Linked DNA regions of Homo sapiens: region 1 is linked to region 2. The links are contacts of gene promoters, found by promoter capture Hi-C in blood cells and fetal thymus (Javierre and others, 2016). All regions are on one chromosome and are shown on one strand. Each heading gives the region's core, a stretch centred on a gene start or on the middle of the fragment in contact. The rest is flanking DNA. Distances are from core to core; before and after follow the strand shown.

The links. Contacts are between HindIII fragments. The CHiCAGO score rates a contact against its expected background, and 5 or more counts as called.
Region 1: a contact is called between a fragment that was not itself captured here and the fragment with the promoter of MBOAT2 in region 2, in 2 of 17 cell types (total CD4 T cells and total B cells). The highest score is 5.4, in total CD4 T cells.

The regions. Positions count from the first base shown.
Region 1 is chr2:7,059,086-7,061,785 of GRCh38, forward strand. It overlaps a transcript of RNF144A not described here. Among named protein-coding and RNA genes, the nearest start is that of GRASLND, 140 kb to the left of the region's middle. The HindIII fragment of the contact is 5,110 bases long and covers 1-2,700 here.
Region 2 is chr2:9,002,345-9,005,044 of GRCh38, forward strand. It overlaps MBOAT2 (membrane bound glycerophospholipid O-acyltransferase 2), which reads right to left and starts at 1,340. Exons shown (of 13, transcript NM_138799.4): 1 at 1,196-1,340. The coding sequence starts at 1,270. It overlaps LOC124907728 (a long non-coding RNA gene), which reads left to right and starts at 1,732. Exons shown (of 2, transcript XR_007086199.1): 1 at 1,732-1,784. RefSeq lists an enhancer at 1-651 and silencers at 416-710, 1,254-1,713. The HindIII fragment of the contact is 14,053 bases long and covers 1-2,700 here.

The DNA of each region.
Region 1 (2,700 bases), core at 131-2,630, 1.9 Mb before region 2:
ACCTGTAATCCCAGCACTTTGGGAGGCTGAGGCGGGCAGATCATGAGGTCAAGAGATCGAGACCATCCTGGCTAACACAGTGTAACCCCATCTCTACTAAAAATACAAAAAATTAGCCAGGCATGGTGGCGGGTGCCTGTAGTCCCAGCTACTTGGGAGGCTGAGGCAGGAGTATGGCATGAACCTGGGAGGTGGAGCTTCAGTGAGCTGAGATCATGCCACTGCACTCCAGCCTGGGTGACAGAGCGAGACTCCGCCTCAAAAAAAAATAAATGCTACTTTGGATGTATCAGAATAATACTGTAAAGGATTAACCAAAGGCTTCAGCTTTCAGTACGTCCTGTTCTGTGCCATGCCCCGTGTTCCCCTCCCACCCACTTCCTGAGTCAGGCAGCAAGGGCATCTATGCTCATGTTGTCTGGTAGGGTTATTACATCAAACATACAGAGAGAAACAAAAGAGTCAAGTGTCAGCTTTCATGTTTTAGAAGAGACTTTTGATGAAGATGCAGAGTGACCAGTATAGAGAGAACCTTGGGGACCAGCTGGAGGCAGATAGCTCAAGCCACACCAGAAGGTCCAGGTGCCAGCAACCAGAGTCCAGCAGTTAAGGAGAAATCTCAATAAACTCTAATGATGACAGATGCTGAGCACTGAGAACCCAGCACTTTCCTTCTCAGTGCTTTGGTGCTGGAGAACTTACACCAACTCAGAGGAGAAAGGGTGAGAGAGAATCACTAAACCAGCTGAAAATCCTTGATTTGCTTGCTTAATATGAATTACTTAAAATTTAATTTTCTTCTCTTGAGTAAAAGTGGCGCTGCAGGTAGAAAAATAAAGTTATGTTGTTGTGGACATCTGAACCCACATAAGGGCTTGTTTGTGTAGCTGTTTATACTTACAGTCTTAAAATGCTATCATAGGAAAATAGCACATTCAAATTAATATTCCCCATCATGTCAGTGTCTTGAAACGTTATCCATGTTCTGGAAGTTTCAGCCATCAGAATGAATCTTCTAGAGTGAATCTACTGCTAAACATAGTTCAACTAATTGTGTCTCCTCTTTCTTCTTCATCTCCTCCTCTCACTTCTCTTCTTTGTTTCTCTTCTTTCTGCCCCTTCTCTTGGCACTTTCCTCAAAACATTTGAAAGTTGAAATAAGACATGATCCTGTTTTGTTTTTTTTTTTCTTCCTAATCTAAGGTTTCCAGATGGATTAGGCTGGCATTCTGCGTTCCCAGAAATATTTCCAGAGCTGAGAGGGGCAGGAAAGAGAGCACATGTGCTGTTCCAAGCTGTCTGTTGCCTCTGTGTGGCCATCTGTCATTTTCTTCAGGCACACGATGACCTGCAGGGCTGGTTCTTGCTTTTGTTACCTTCAAATCCTGAAGGATTCAGACAGACTAACATTCCAATGCCCTTTATAACCTTTCCCCCTGGCAAAACTTCAGCCAGAATAAACCAAAAATGAAATGGAGAGAAAGATCACTGCATCTTTCTGGATCCCCAAATTTCCATTCCAGATTTAGGGCTGATGTTCCCAGCTCGTTGTCCCTAACCACATCGTTGTCACCCTTGGTTTCCCAGACCACACCAGAGATGCGTAGCATTCCCTTACTCTCTTCTCACCTGCAAGAATTTATAACCTCTTCTGAGACCCACTCAGATGCCCCATCTTACATAGAGCCTTTCCTGTGCAGTCATCCACCTGACCCCATCGCCCCTGCAACCCCTGCAGTCTTTTGTTTTTCTTATGCTCTAGTAGCATGTGGTCAGATCAGCATGCCGGCACTTGTGTTGAATTGCAAATACCTATGTATTCCTTTTTGGCATGTAGTTTCCTTGAGAGGAGATGGGACCTGAGTCTAATAGTTTGTTTTTCCTAGTTTCTAGTAGGTGGCACCAAATGATTTCTAGAAGGCTGGATGGAACCTATGGAATCAAAGGGAAATAAAGCAACATTTTGATGCCCTGGGCTCTACTATGGTAGTGGCCCAAGTGTTTCTACTCTGCTCACCCCTGACATTTATGTGAGCTGTCCATGGATATAAAAAAGCTGCTATGATTTCAGACCTGAGCTTCACCATCAGGTCCAAATTAATTCCCGACGTCCAGGCAAAAGAGGAACATGGCACTCTGACAACTCACCCCAAACTCATTTGTGTAAATATTTTTACTGCACAGTTTTATGTCTCCGAGTTGGTTTCTGACTTCCAATGTCAGCACAGAGCTCTCATGGGAGCCTAGCATTCCCACCAGGCTTCAGCTGAATATTTATGAATGTTCCATAGTAGATATTTTCTATTGTTCCTGGAAGACTTTTATTATTTAGAGAGCAATTAATCATATTCTGAGGGAAAATGGAGGAGCCAAGTCACATGGCAAGGGTGATGATGTTTTTTTTAATTCCAAGATGAGCAAAATAATCTCAGCTAAGGCTTTCTCAAAGATTTGCTTATTTCCCGTGTCTATCTGCACACATTTCTACGGGCCATGTTTCCATCACAAGCAGCCAGCTTAAAAATAGGGCTTAGGCAAGTCTTCTGCTGTCAGAATTGCACACCACTCTTTAGGGCCTATGATTTAGGCTGAATGCTGAGGCCTAGAACTACATCTTACATTTACTTTGGTAACGATGGCATTGCTTTTTAAATTACTCAACACAAGAATGAGAAATAGTTTTTAGAGGATAATATAAGG
Region 2 (2,700 bases), core at 90-2,589:
GTAAAGCACAAAGCAGCTAGTATCCTAATGTCAGGTTTCCAGCTTGCTGCTATGGAAAGCCGTCTGGACAAGAAGGAATCCCGTATTGAAGTGAAATCCCTGAAGACTAAATGACAGCAGCACCTTCAAGTTCAAGACAGTGAACCAGTATCCCGTGTGAAGTCCAAACACTTCCAGGTTAAGTACACTTGAAATAACTGTAAGCAAAATTTCCAAAGTTAACTACCTTTAGCCTGGGGCTAGAGCAATCACCTAACTATACACCCCCGCCCCCCAGCCCCCGCCTCATTAACAACTTCCCTAAATCTCACTGTCACAACAAAATACTTCCAAACTTTCTTTTCTCAGTAAAAATGGCGCTGCTTTTCCCATCACAATGCTGTTTATTTCTCAGTAATCGTTAGGCCCTTTAAACCATCAAACTCGATTGGCCTCATTTAAATACCACCCTTCCCTAGACACTGTCAAGAGCTTTTCTGAGGGCTGGGCAAGGAGGTAAAGTGGCTGCATCAATCTACAAGGTTGCCACTTTGTCAGCAAGAATCCTGGGATTAACTCCGACTTTTCTTCATAACCTGTCTGCCTTCCCACAAACTGTTGCCTCTGTCTCTCTTAAGCCACAATCCAACGCAAACTGTCCCCAAAGTGCAGTAGCGCTTAAGCCTCTCCGGGCCCCTAGCACCCATCGACGCCGTCTCTAAGGCACCCAGCACACCCAGACCCATGCATCAGCCTCTCCGGGGGTCGCTCAGAGGCGCGCGCGGGGCAGGCAGCACCACGCCAGGCTCCCCAAAGCGCAGCCTTCCGCACCCTTTCCACAACCCGGTCCATGCGCACCGGGGGCTGCTCCGGGACCCGACCACCGGATCCGAGCGCCGCTGCCGCGAAGGGCAGGGACCGCATGCACACCCGCACGCCCATACGACCACCCTCCCCGGGGGCTGTCGCCGGCAACAACGCCCGGCCCACCTCCCGCTCGGCCCGGGGATGGCGGGCTGGGGGCGCACCCAGGAGGGAGGGGGCTCTGGGACAATAACCGGCTTGTTGCCCCCTCCCTTCCAGGGAGCGGCGGGTAGGGGGGCACCGGGCGCCCGGCCCCAGCCCCCACCCTCCTCCCGGGCCCCCGGTCGGGTGGCACCGCGGCGGGGAGGGGCGGCGAGGGCGCGACGCCCGGCGCCAGGGCGCCTCGGGGTACCTGGTCGATGGGCAGCTGCACGGCGTTGCTGAGGGGCTGCAGCAGGGTGGAGCCCGTGGTGCTGGTGGTGGCCATGGCCGGGCCTCGGCGCTCCGGCCGCCCGCGCCGCTCGCCCGCTCGCGCTGTGCCGGGCGACGACGAGGATGGGGATGCAGCGGCGCGCCCGCCCCTGGGCCGCCCGCGGTCGGAGCTCTGCGCGGGGAAGGCCGGGGAGGGGCCGGGGGCGGTGCCCGGCTCGCACCTCCCCCTCCGCCGCCACCTCCTCCCGCGCCCGCCGCCCCCGACCGCCCTGCACAGGCGCGGCCCGTCCTGCCGTCGCCCCCGTCGTCCCCGCCCCGGCGCCCCAGCCGCATCCCCCGCCCCCGACTTCCAGCAGCTTCCAGCGGCCCCCTCCCCACCTCGCGCGCTCTCGCTCCAGACAGCTGCGCGACCCAATCGCGGCGCGACGCCCTGACGCCCGCAGCCAATCAGAGAGCGCCGGCCGCGCCACGCCCCTCCCCCGTGCCGAGGACCCGGGCGAGGGCGCCGAGGCGCGGCCCGGGCCGTCGCCGGAGAACGGCTGGCCAGCGTCGTGGGGCGCGCTCCTCGGGTGAGAGCATGGAAGAGCGTCTTTGCCCCTCACTCCTCGGTTTCTCCTCCCTGGAATGTCGCGGCCCCCCACCCCTCTCTGGGAGAGACGGCAGACAACAAAGGGGCCCGGGGTGGCGGCCGGAGGGACGATGTGAGGGACGCCGCCGAGCCAGCGCCAGGGGAAGTTGGGGACGAAGGTGGGGGCTGGGAGGACGACAAACCAAAACAGCGACCTGGCTGAGAAGCCCCTTTGTCTGGGAGAGTGCCGGGTGAAAGCCCAAAGCTGAGAGCAGCCCCGGGGTCTGACGCTTTCGTCACCCTGCAGCCGCACCCGGGCCTTTGGGTGGTGAGAGCTGGGCCTGGGTTCGACGCCCGCGGGCGCAGGGAGACCGGCTCCCCTTTGCTGTGTGAAAGTTTAGTTCTTTGTAGCCAGCCGCCCTCGTTGAAGGCCCCACCTTCTTCCTGAGAAAGTTTCTAAGCATCCCTTCACCCCTTGAGCGCAGGCACCCCCAGACTGTTGAAGTCCGCCAGGTTTACATACCCTGGCGGGTCACGTGTATATATAATCCCCCCAACTTCGTAAAAGTAAGCCATTTGAGTTCCTTTAAAATGCAAACGTCAACTTCTGTTCAGAAGACTTTAAAAGAGGAGAAATGCCACAGCAGTTATGAGGACAAATCAAGACTCAAGGATTTGGCAGTTTAACTTTGGTAGAAATAACTAATGTTTACTGAGAGTTTAACCACAGCTTTAATACTTTTGGTATTTAATCCTCACAATAACCGTGTGAAATAGACACTTTTACACACCCTCCTTCAAGGAAGTTGAGTCACAGAAGAGGTAACTTGCCCAGGGGCACACAGCTGGTAAGTAGATTGGAATCCAAGTAAATCTACATTTAGAGCCGACCTTATCACTAGGCCTTCATCTCTCTC